3 separate regions of the Homo sapiens genome follow, and all the other regions are linked to region 2. Evidence: promoter capture Hi-C in 16 types of primary human blood cells and fetal thymus (Javierre and others, 2016). All regions are on one chromosome and are shown on one strand. Each heading gives the region's core, a stretch centred on a gene start or on the middle of the fragment in contact. The rest is flanking DNA. Distances are from core to core; before and after follow the strand shown.

The links. Contacts are between HindIII fragments. The CHiCAGO score rates a contact against its expected background, and 5 or more counts as called.
Region 1: a fragment that was not itself captured here is called in contact with the fragment with the promoter of COMMD2 in region 2 in 2 of 17 cell types (naive CD8 T cells and naive CD4 T cells); the score reaches 6.3 in naive CD8 T cells.
Region 3: a fragment that was not itself captured here is called in contact with the fragment with the promoter of COMMD2 in region 2 in 6 of 17 cell types (naive CD4 T cells, activated CD4 T cells, naive CD8 T cells and 3 more); the score reaches 9.9 in naive CD4 T cells.

What each region holds. Positions count from the first base shown.
Region 1 is chr3:149,138,436-149,142,233 of GRCh38, reverse strand. It overlaps HPS3 (HPS3 biogenesis of lysosomal organelles complex 2 subunit 1), which reads right to left. Exons shown (of 17, transcript NM_032383.5): 2 at 1,736-2,230; 3 at 1,046-1,217; 4 at 854-939. Among named protein-coding and RNA genes, the nearest start is that of HPS3, 11 kb to the right of the region's middle. The HindIII fragment of the contact is 4,138 bases long and covers 1-3,798 here.
Region 2 is chr3:149,751,239-149,754,990 of GRCh38, reverse strand. It overlaps COMMD2 (COMM domain containing 2), which reads left to right and starts at 2,502. Exons shown (of 5, transcript NM_016094.4): 1 at 2,502-2,613; 2 at 2,704-2,781; 3 at 3,506-3,588. The coding sequence starts at 2,547. RefSeq lists a silencer at 2,277-2,346. The HindIII fragment of the contact is 1,089 bases long and covers 1,886-2,974 here.
Region 3 is chr3:148,997,728-149,001,942 of GRCh38, reverse strand. All of the region lies in intron 4 of GYG1 (glycogenin 1), which reads right to left. Among named protein-coding and RNA genes, the nearest start is that of GYG1, 8.3 kb to the right of the region's middle. The HindIII fragment of the contact is 1,285 bases long and covers 1,178-2,462 here.

The DNA of each region.
Region 1 (3,798 bases), core at 722-3,221, 610 kb after region 2:
TCAGTCTGTCATGCCTTCTCCATGGCTTCTCCTAGCAGGTATGACTTCCCTTTCTAGTACTCATAGGTATTTGCTAAGGATTTTGGGCCGGGTGTGGTGGCTCACACCTGTAATCCCAGCACTTTGGGAGGCCGAGGTGGGCGGATCAATGAGGTCGGGAGTTCGAGACCAGCCTGACCAACATGGAGAAACCCCATCTCTACTAAAAATACAAAATTAGCTGGGCGTGGTGGGGCATTCCTGTAATCCCAGCTACTCGGGAGTCTGAGGCAGGAGAATCACTTGAACCCGGGAGGTGGAGGTTGCAGTGAGCCAAGATCATACCATTGCACTCCAGCCTGGACAACAAGAGCAAAACTCTGTCTCAAGAAAAAAAATAATAAATAATAATAAAATAGAGGTCGGGTGTGGTGGCTCATGCCTGTAATCCTAGCACTTTGGGAGGCCAACACAGGCAGATCACAAAGTCAGGAGATCGAGACCATCCTGCCCAACATGGTGAAACCCCGTCTCTGCTAAAAATACAAAAAAATTTAGCCGGGCTTGGTGGCGGGCGCCTGTAGTCCCAGCTACTCGGGAGGCTGAGGCAGGAGAATCACTTGAACCCAGGAAGTAGAAGTTGCAGTGAGCCGAGATCGCACCACTGCACTCCAGACTGGCAATAAAGCGAGACTCAGTCTCAAAAAAAAAAAAAAAAAAAAACAAAAAAAAAAACTTTGTTAAAGGGCCACAAGGAGACTCCAGTGGAAGAACCAAACCACCAAACCTATTACCCACATGGGTCTTCACTCCCAGCCCAGACAGAGCATTTTCACCTTGCTGCACTGTCGCACTCCTGCACTGTCATGCTTACCGGTCTGGTAAATGGGTAGCAGCTGGAGGGAATGTAGCTTGATGTCATCAGACAAGACATAGGACGAAATATCAGGAGCAAAACGTCTGTGGGTTTAAAAAGACAGAGAAAGGGAAAAATATAACTTCCATGTACTTTAAGCAGGCATATATACATAAAATGCTGGTAAAAAAAAAAAAAGCACTATAATACCTATAGAGCAGGTGCTGAAAGTGGGAATATTTTCTTTTTTCATCAGCTAATCCCGTAGACTCCAGTGTAACAGATAATCCAGACTGTTCACTTTTTTCACCAAGAAGTTCCAGGGGCTTCTGGCAGATGACAAAATCATCTGACTCAAGCTGTGAAATTTCATTACTGATGCCTTAAAAAAATAAAATGTAACAGTCCTGCTTGAATGAAAATTAGATTTTACAACATCCTCTCACCAATTAGACATATAGTAATTTCATTTATTTATAATATGCACACATTTACAAGGCACTGTGGTTGTGAAAAGACTTAGCACTTGCTCATTTAATCTCCACAACTGATAAAGTACAACAGGGTAGGTATTATCATCCCCATTTTACAAATGAGGATGTTGAAACTCAGAGATGGTATTATTAACCCAAGGTCATTCAACTAGTAACTATGAGGACTAGGACTAGAAGCCCCTCATCTAGCAGTGGTTGTTCCATTACTTCTACTGATAAATATATTCACATGCTACAGAGTAAGCTATGGACAGCCAGATCATAAAACCAAATCCCATGAAATAGGAATAACTAAATCTATAAATAACATGGCCGGGCACCATATATACCACAGACCTTCAGACTGCCAAAGGTGAAGGTTTTCTATATTCCTAAAACAAGAAAGCAAGTCAAATTCATTATTTACCTTCTTCTGTCCGTCTTATTCGATTGTTGGTCTTATGTGGATGGTGGTGAACTCTCTCTCCATTTTTAGGGCCTGACTCCAGTTTTACGATTAAGACTTCTAAGTCTGACATGACAGCAACATATCCAACACAAAAAGAAACCTCAACAGGAGTGATATTATCTATGTGTATAATTAAAGAACGTTCAAAGTCCAATAGTGAGAATTCCTCATTAATGATCTGGTACTTCAAACTAAATAAGACTAATTTATTTGTGCAGCCAACGAGAAGGTCTCCTTTCACAGGGCAACAGGAAATGCACAAGGGGGCCTCCGAAAGCGGCATTTCAATAATGTACATCTGGTCTCTGAAGGCTTTGCTGAATGGTCCCTCCACATTATGCCCAATCATTCGGATACACACACGAGAGTTTTCAGTCCTTTTATTTCTCCAGTTCACATAAGCACGTAGAAATGTAGCTTTGTTTTTCTCTTCAATTGCTACCAAATAATCTCCTGAGAAGGAATGAAGATTATACTGAGAATTTGTAATTAGAAATACAACCACCTCCCTTGCTGACATGAGTACTATTAATGAATTCTAACACAAATGGTCGAATTAAAGACTGAATAGAATAAAACCCTAAGTAACAAAATCTTAGGTGTATTTTTGACTGACATTAGGCTTTGAGGTTCTGAAATGCAATCTCTCCCATCTGAGTGTCTTAAGACAACCTATTAATTGCCCATGTAACATACAGAAAGTTCATATAAGGAATAAAATGTAAAATTAAGTGTTTACTGTAGCTCTAAATCTGCAGTTCTAACAAAGCTCTACTGACACAGAATTCACTATTAGGGTGACACCAAAATTAGGTATACATTAAGGAATTCTCAGATTAGCAGAATTTACATTTCAAACCCTCTCCTTCCCACAAGTCACAAGTCTGAGAAACAGGATAAAGTTGGAAATAGCAAAGAAAATACAGATCCAAGTTAATTTTCTCTAAATTGTTGATTGTATAAGTTTTAACTTATAAACATATATTGGTTGTGGGAAGTCAAAATGGTAACGTGGTAAAGAGATGCAAAATGAAAAGCATAATGATCTCCCCCTTGAGGACCCAATGTTAACACACAGCCTGGTATGTGCCTTTCAACACCTTTCTCTCATATAAACAGAGATCACAGAGAGGTATTCTGTCTTTTTTAAAAATGAACAAAAACTAAAATGTAATCATATTAAATATATTTAACAATCTGCAACTTTTAAAAATTATTAATAAATCTCTCCCTCCAGGCTGATACATGGATATCTAACATCCTTTTCAATATGTTCAACATCCCATATGTACATACATACGCATAATTTATTCAATAATTCCCTTACTGATAAGCATTCAAATATATTTCCAGGGTTTTTTGCCACTATGTTTCATAGTAATACATAGGCTTATATCTATATATTTATTTACTGGGGGATTTATTTTAACGGTACAGATTCCCAAAAGTGAGATATGTTGGGCCAAAGGGCATGGGCATTTTAAATTTCAATATTGCCCAATTACTATCAATTAGATAATAGAAATTCATGTTACCAGCAGCAGTGCTTAAACACACCTGTTTCCCCACATCCTCACTAGCACTGACTCTACACAATGAGAGAAACATGGACTCTCACGGCTATTATAATTTACATTTCCTAGACCTTTTTATAAAGCTGGCCATCTTTTCCTACGTTTATCAGCCATGTATAGTTTCTCTTCTGCATGATGTCCAATTTTTATTAAGTTGTTCATTTGTTTTTCTTATCATGACACTGTAGCTCTCTACTTAAAAGGGATATAAACCTTTTGTCGTCTATAAATAGTAAATGGTTTTAGAGTCTATTTTCTGATTTTGACTTTGCTGATGGCATGTTTTACCATACCCTTTTTATTTAGAGTATACTATATGTATCTTTTCCTCCTTGCCTTCTGAGTTCCCATCCATGTCCTCCAAATTACATAAATATGCTCCTATATTTTCTTCTATTTTAGTGGAGGTTTAGAAAATATACATTTTTAATCTTTAGAATTTTGCGG
Region 2 (3,752 bases), core at 1,253-3,752:
TGTAAATGCTGCTGTTTGCTTAATTCTAATTTATTGTTTCATTTGATCATCAAAATCAATTTTTAATGTGAATTTATTAGTTCATCTGAGCATCATAACAGCCCTGCATGGCACAGAAGGGCAGTATTAAAATGCCAGTTTTACAGACGAAGAGGCTATGGTTATAACATAAAAACAACTTATTAGAAGTCATACAGGTAGTGTCAGAGCCAGATCTGGAATCTAGAGTTTTGAATTTTCACTCAGGTAATTTTTTCTAAACAATTATATCACTTATGGCAACAGAAGTCACTCTATAAATTATCCTGGGGTGTTTTAACTCCCAGGCTGGTTTTTCTTGGATATAACTTGGTTTCTTTCTTTTTTTTTTTTTTGACAGTGTCTGACTCTGTCACCCAGGCTGGAGTGCAGTGACTCAAATCTTGCTCACTGCAACCTCTGCCTCGCAGGTTCAAGCAATTTTCATGCCTTGGGCTACCAAGTAGCTGGGACCACAGGTACATGCCACCAAGCTTTGCTAATTTTTGTATTTTTAGTAGAGATGGGGTTTTACCATGTTGGTCAGGCTAGACTTGAATTTCTGGCCTCAAGTGATCCTCCCGCCTTGGCCTTCCAAAGTGCTGGGTTTACAGGCATCAGCCACCATACCTGGCCTAACTTGGTTCCTTGACCACCTTTTTTAGACAGCCTATTGTGCTACTCCCTAGTCTCACCTTCACCTCGCCTGTCCTCACTTCATTCCCTGAGATTACAGACAAGAAAGGCCATTTCATATTGGCATAATATTGTGTCTATTTGCAAATTCATTTCAGCATTCCTACTCCCTATATATGTACAGTTCTTGAATACCTCTTTTGAATCAGTTGAAACTGGTTTTTACTGTAATCTCTCATTAATTACAGAATGCTGTAATTCTCTCATTAATTAACTAGTTCAATACATTTTTTGACATGTGTTCATTGTACACTTGTAGAAGAATCATGATTTTACCTTTTCTGAAAATTATTCTTTAATAATGGATGTTTTCTCAATAATGTGTGAATAAAGGCAACTTCAGGAAATGATGCAATTTTTGCTAATCTGCAATTCACAGTCTAAGTAAAAGTTGTGTTCTCTCTGCAAATGCTACTTCAAGAACTAACTAATAAGTTCAAGGACCTGTCTTTCTGTGTCCCAGTGGAAGAAACAATTTCAGTCAGATGTGAAGGACAAAGTAGACACAGAGAAGTGAATTGAAAAACTCTTCCAATTTTTAGTCTGCCTGGGAGACTCAGAATATAGAGTTGTCTCAAGCCTTAGATAGAAAAGACAGATATGAAGAGTCTTCTTCCCTTCCCCTCTCTTCCTCCACACCCTCCATTTTCAAGGGGTTAAGATTTGAAGAATCATATTCCTATCAATTAGCAACTTTATCATCTCTGATATTTGAACCACAGCAGGTGAGAAGAGAGTTGGAAAAGGAACTAAATTATCACAGGCGCTAAATACTTTTTAAAAGGCATTGCTCTGGGCCAGGTGTGGTGGTTCATGCTTGTAATCCCAGCACTTTGGGAGGCCAAGTTGGCTGGATGACTTGAGGTCAGGAGTTCAAGACCAGCCTGGCCAACATGGTGAAAACCCGTCTCTACTAAAAATACAAACATTAGCCAGGCATGGTGGTGGGCGCTTGTAATACCAGCTACTCGGGAGGCTGAGGCAGGAGAATCGCTTGAACCCGGGAGGCAGAGGTTGCAGTGAGCCGGGCGACAGAGCGAGACTCCATGTAAAAAACAAAACAAAACAAAACAAACAAACAAAAACATTGCTCTGAATCCTGTAAGCATCGGTCATTGTCATCATTATCTTTATCCTAATTTATAATCACTCATAAAACTTGTCAGAAGCTTTCAGCTTTCAGGCTGTTATGTAGAAGGATGGGCTTTGCAGCAGGTAAGTGAGGGATCCAACCCTCTCCATCTAACTCTGTCACAGGCTTTGTCACATAATCTCTGGAGCTTTGTGTCTTATCTGTAAAAACAAAGCCATGTTTGTTGAGGATATTAACTGAGATACATTTAAGATAACATAGAAGCTCTGGAAACTATTAGCTTTATAAAAGTGTCAGTTGCTGGACTTGTCTATCAGTTTCCTTATCTCTAATGGAAATTATAATGGAACCTACCTCATAGGGTTCTTCTGAACTCCAAATGTATTTAATAAATGTAAGAACACTTCCTGACACGGTTAGTGCTTAACAAATGTGAACTATTGATATTATTAATGTATGCTCCACGAGGGGGCGTGTCGGATTTGAAACACCTTTTCATCTCCCATAGAGCCTAGCACCTTGCACCCAGCAGGCGCTCACTGCATCTTTGCGGGATGATTTCAATGTTCTGACCTCAGCCTGCGCTGCAGGGAACGTCCGAGTGTAACGCGTTAGTTCGTAGGCCGGAACCCAAAGCTCCGGACGCTGCGACGCCGGAGCCTCTAGGCGCCGGGACACGGGCGCCGGAAGTGGCGAAGGCGGGGTCGGCGCTGCCGGGTGAAATCGTAGGACAGTGAAGATGCTGCTGGAATTGTCCGAGGAGCATAAGGAACACCTGGCCTTCCTGCCTCAAGTGGACAGCGCGGGTCAGCGGGCGTGGGGGCGGTGTTCTGTGGGCTGGGGAGGAGGTCAAAGGCAGCGCCTGGCACTCAACAGCCTTCTGACTTTCATTGCAGTGGTCGCCGAGTTTGGGCGGATTGCTGTGGAATTCCTGAGACGCGGCGCAAACCCAAAAATCTACGAAGGCGCCGCCAGTAAGAAGGGAAAGGGGAAGGCTCCGCAGGCTTCTAGGGCGGTTGCGAGCCATTCCCTGTCTCCCGGGAGAGAAACGGATTATTGCGAGTCCTAGGGTCTTGTTCCGATTGTAGTAGAATAAAACCAGCAGAGCTCTTCAGTCAGGGTGCAAATCCTGCCCGTCCCTTAAGTAGCTGTGAGATTGTTAAAGCTTCTATTAAATCAGTTTTCTCATGGTAAAATGTACATAATACCACCTTACTTTCAGAAATACTGAAAAGTGTTTTGTATAAATATACCAAAGTCTGTGGAATAGCTGGGTCAACTGTAAATTGCAAGTATTTGGTTATCATTATTAGTTGTTCAGATATCCGCTTTTGCTAAAAAAAAAAAAAAAAGTGTTGTTTTACCCCTGGGTAAGAGGCAGTCTCTGGGATTAAGTCAATCCCTGTCGAGTTCCTCTTCTGCCAGACTTGAAGGAGCTACGTATTCAAGAGAAGGGCTACGCACCTGATACTAGTCTCCACAGTTCTGCATTTTGTTAAGGTTACTTGGTGGGAAATACCAAAGGCATTTGGCTGGGAGTGGAATGACAAGGAGCAGGAGCCTCTGGCCAACTTACTGTTTTTCATGCAGTGTTTGAAAACATGTAATAATGAATAGTGTTTATTTTTAAATACAAATATGAACAAGATAAATACTACAGTAGTAATTTATTTGCTCGTTTTTACTTTTCTTTCTCAGGAAAACTCAATGTGAGTAGTGACACTGTCCAGCATGGTGTGGAAGGATTAACGTATCTCCTCACTGAGAGCTCAAAGCTCATGGTAAGGGATTTTCTGGACTGTTTTGTGTTGGCTGGATTCTTAAGAACGGTCTGGTGTACTCTACATCATAGTCCTGGCAGGTACCTGTGTGTTTTAATAATGTTGTTAATGGTTTATAATTGATTTTTTGAAGACATACCTAAAAAATAAAAATCATATCATCT
Region 3 (4,215 bases), core at 571-3,070, 750 kb after region 2:
TATACCAGCTGCTCTGTCTACTCAGAGAAATTACTTAATTCATCTGTCATAAAGCCAAGGTAATAGGGATCTTCCTCCATCCCGTATTATTCTCAGGATACATACTCAAGAATGCTGCCATATGAGAGAATTGGGAATGGAAAAACCACCCACCACCACCACCCACCCCACCACAACACATAACCCAACCAGAGTTGAGAAGGACCCTGGTTCAGACCTGACTTTGCCTAGCTCAGAGACATCAGGCAAGCTGCTGCCCTGAACTGTACCAATGGCAGGTCCCCAGTGCTAGCTAGATAGCAGGCTCTCAATTAATATTTGTTATATGAATGGATGTATGAATGCCTACCTCACAGGACTGTTGAGAAATAAGTGAAAAAGTAGGTAAAATGACCAGCATACAAGCCTGCATACATATAACACATTAGTCCCTTCCTCCTCCTCTATTTCTCACAGGGTTCATGATCTCTGACAGTTACAAAGCTGGAGACAGGTGGCTAAGTTAAAAAAGTATATTCACGGGTACAGTGACATAACAATAGCTCTTAAAAAAACTTACGTGTGCTCATTAATTTTGCCATTACATGATATGGCTTTTGCTTTTCCTCAAGATACTTATTATCCAAACTATCAATAAAATGACACAAATGCAAGAGAACACAGTCATTTCCAAAACAACTGATAAATTACTAGAACAGGCAGCCTAGTGCTTGGGTGGCTGGGGGAAGTCACCATGGGAAGATAACTGTCCGGGCTGACCTATCAAGTCAGGGAACCAAGTGAAGCACACCAAAATCTCTCAGCTCATTTGGTTTGGACAAGTACCATCTTGAAATATCTCAGTCCTTCATTCTTTTTTTGGGCAGGTCCAACATGAAGCCTAATTAACTACAAAGATTTTAAAATCTAGCTCTGGGGTCAATTTTACACTTTAATACAATGTAGCACCAAATCATTTCTGTTAAACATTATTTTAAAACATTACTGTACTCTGCTTATGGGACTCAATGACCACTTAGAATTTGGAACACACAAATATAGTGACCTCAAAGCGGATCCTGGACTCTACTTAAATAAATCATACCTAATATTCTGCTACTAATTTATTCTCTCCTATGTTTTCTTCTTTCTAGAAATTCAACTACAGACCAAAATTCCAGTACACCAATCAAAAGCTTAGGATATTTACACTGCAGTAATCAAAATGAGTATAAGATGTTTTTTAAGGATATTCCAAATTACAAAATATGAATTCCTCTGACTTAGGTTTTTGAAACTAACACATACAGACAAAATAGACAATTTTTAAGCACTTAACTCTTCAACTATACAAGCACTCTTAAGATATATTAGTCACAGGGGAAAAGAAAATAAACCTCAACTTGCATTCAGGTTGATTTCTTCAGAGTCAAGTTCATCAGCCTCATTTCACCGATGTGGCAGAAGCAAAACTGCTGATTAGAACCTACAATATAATGAGCTCTCTCTTCCCCTCTTAGTGCTAACATGCCCAGAAGCTAACCTTATCTTGTCACATCCTATACAATACTAGTGTAGAACTATTTCACAACAGCTATTGTTCAACTTTTCGGGAAATATGTAATTACAGTGATGAAGTAAGTGCCAAGACAGTTTGAAAATACAACAGTATAGAAGTTTGACTCTTCATTATGGAAAATTAGACACCAGCCATGAATTCGGTTATGTAGTCACCAGTTCTAAAATCTAACATTATAGAATTTTAGGAAGAAAGAGAAGTCCAGGTACCTCGTATGGTTTGCCATATTAGGATTATTCTCTTGGCCAGAGTCACAGAATAGAGAGGTGGAGAGGCTGTGAATAGAGGGCTGGTGATTAGAAGAATGACAGCCACATTCTTTTGCATGAGAAGGGTTGCAAAAGCAGCTGCAAATGCTCAGCCATCAACAGCCTGTGTGGCTTGTCAGTGGACATCAGGCCCCACCAGTTTCTGATGAACACAGGAAAGAGGTTAAAAACATGACCTGCGAGATATTCACACTGAGATACAGTCATCTGTAAAACTGGTCTGAGCTGAAAATTCCGGGACTTAAAACTGACTATGGGGGTGGTGGAGGGAGAAACTATGGTTGTGAGAAAATGTGGGTAACTGTGAAAGGAACACCTGAAAATGTTCATCAGTGCCTACAGCACAACACCTAACCAAAATTATTTTTATATAATTCTTAATTTTTATATTTAAGACTATTTACTTTTACTATATTTATAATTTTTATATAATAACATATTGAAAACCAGAGGCAAAGGTTACTGCCATTAGACAAAGTCATTGTCCATAAAGAAATATTTTATTGCTATCAAGCATAAGTCCAACACATCTTTATGTCACACAGTTCACACATTGATTCAAGTGGATAGTAAACCCCTCCAGAGAGAAGCAGCCTCCCAAGGTATAGAGTGAGCTTTCTTTGCTAAGTAAAGCTTAACACATATTTCAAGTGAACACAACCTTTGATTCGAGAACTGCTAATTCATTCTTCTGCTGAATTTAAACAACATATTGAGAACCATAAGTTCTCAGCTGCATAGATGACTTTTTACCTCTTTCAATTTCTATTAACAGAGAAGATTCAGTCCTTCACCACCAATGAGCCAGTAAATGGAATACCTCAGAGGATGGCCAGCACCTGGAAACCTGCTGCTGAATAATGAAATGTGCTAGAGGCACAGACAGAATCTCACGGTGGTTTCAGATTCTGGCTGAAAAAGCAGGAAGTGCTTCCTAGTCGAGCACTCTGCACGCATCCAAGCTTCTTAACAAAGAATAGGTTAGTTAGTTTCATATTCTCAAATTATAACCTAGATAATTTACCACGGCACACTACTGTTTGGTAATCAAAGTCTTACCTCTCAATAACATCTAATCGTTTTCTAGGTTAGAAATTGGATTCTCTTTACATGATTAAAATCATGTGGATTTCAGGCAGTTGGCAGGCCACAAGATATACTTTAGAATGTGATTCACTTACTAAAGCTGAAAAGAGTTACACCGAATTTCTGGCAGGATTACACTTACTTCCTTCAAATTAGGAGAGGAGGTGAAGAAAGCTACACTCTGACGAGAAGGTTAAGACAAACAGTGGACTTCTGCTAAAAACACTCTCCTCTTTTATGCAAAGGTAACTTTCAGTATAAGCAGTAGAAATAAGGAATACATCTTTTGAACTTAAAGGCTAATACAGCTTTCATTCCTTCTATGAAAGGAAAATAGCAGGAGCTAAAAACATGTCAGTAAAGCGAAGAAGTTTCATTCGGCCTTGACCACGGTGAACATTTAACACATTATTATTTTCTTATTTTAAGGTTGCTTAAAACAAGACTTCACTTCTTGTTAGATGCTGCCATACATTATGGTTCAGATACTCCTGCTCTGTTTTAGAGCATGTAGAGAGCAGAGTTTCGCAACCTCAGCACTACTGACATGCTGGGCTAGGTAATTCTTTGTTGGAAGAAATCGTCTTGTGCATTGTAGGATGTTTAGCATCCTGGACCTCCACTCATCAGATGCCCTTTGCACCCTCCCCCTTCAGTTGTAACAACCAAAAATGTCTCCAGACATTGCCAAATGTCCTTTGGGGGACATAATCACCCTTGTTTTGAGAACTATTAGCTTACAGCATAAACAAGCTAAATAGTGAAATAAAACTGAGACTTAAACTTCCCTATTATTTTCAATTACATTTCATATATAGCCACAATTCCCAAATCCTCAGCCAAATAACTAAAAATAATTCAATTTCTGTGAATAGCAACAATGAAAACCCAATCTCAGCTTTATGTATAATTTGAAATGTTTTAACTTCCAGTATCTTCACCTCAGCAATCTAACAAACTTATAGGTCTAATGTTTTCATTTTTAAAGTTTAATATTTTTTTAACTTTCTAACCAATTAATAAAAATGAATTCTCATATCTGCACCCAGGACTGAATCTTTTGTCAAATGAGAAAGGCTGTTTCTGCTATTTCCAAAAGATCTACTTACTGCAAATCTCAGATCTACTCTTGGAAAGGGGAGAGGAGGAAAGAAGTCCCCGCTGTGTCTCCAGCAGAGCTTGGGCCTCTGGCCCAACCCCATGTGAATAGCACACAGCACTGTGCCCTGCTACAATGTCACATATCTGATAGTGAGGCACTGCTGGGAGGGCTTCTAAGAGAATGTCCTCCTTCTTCTCTAT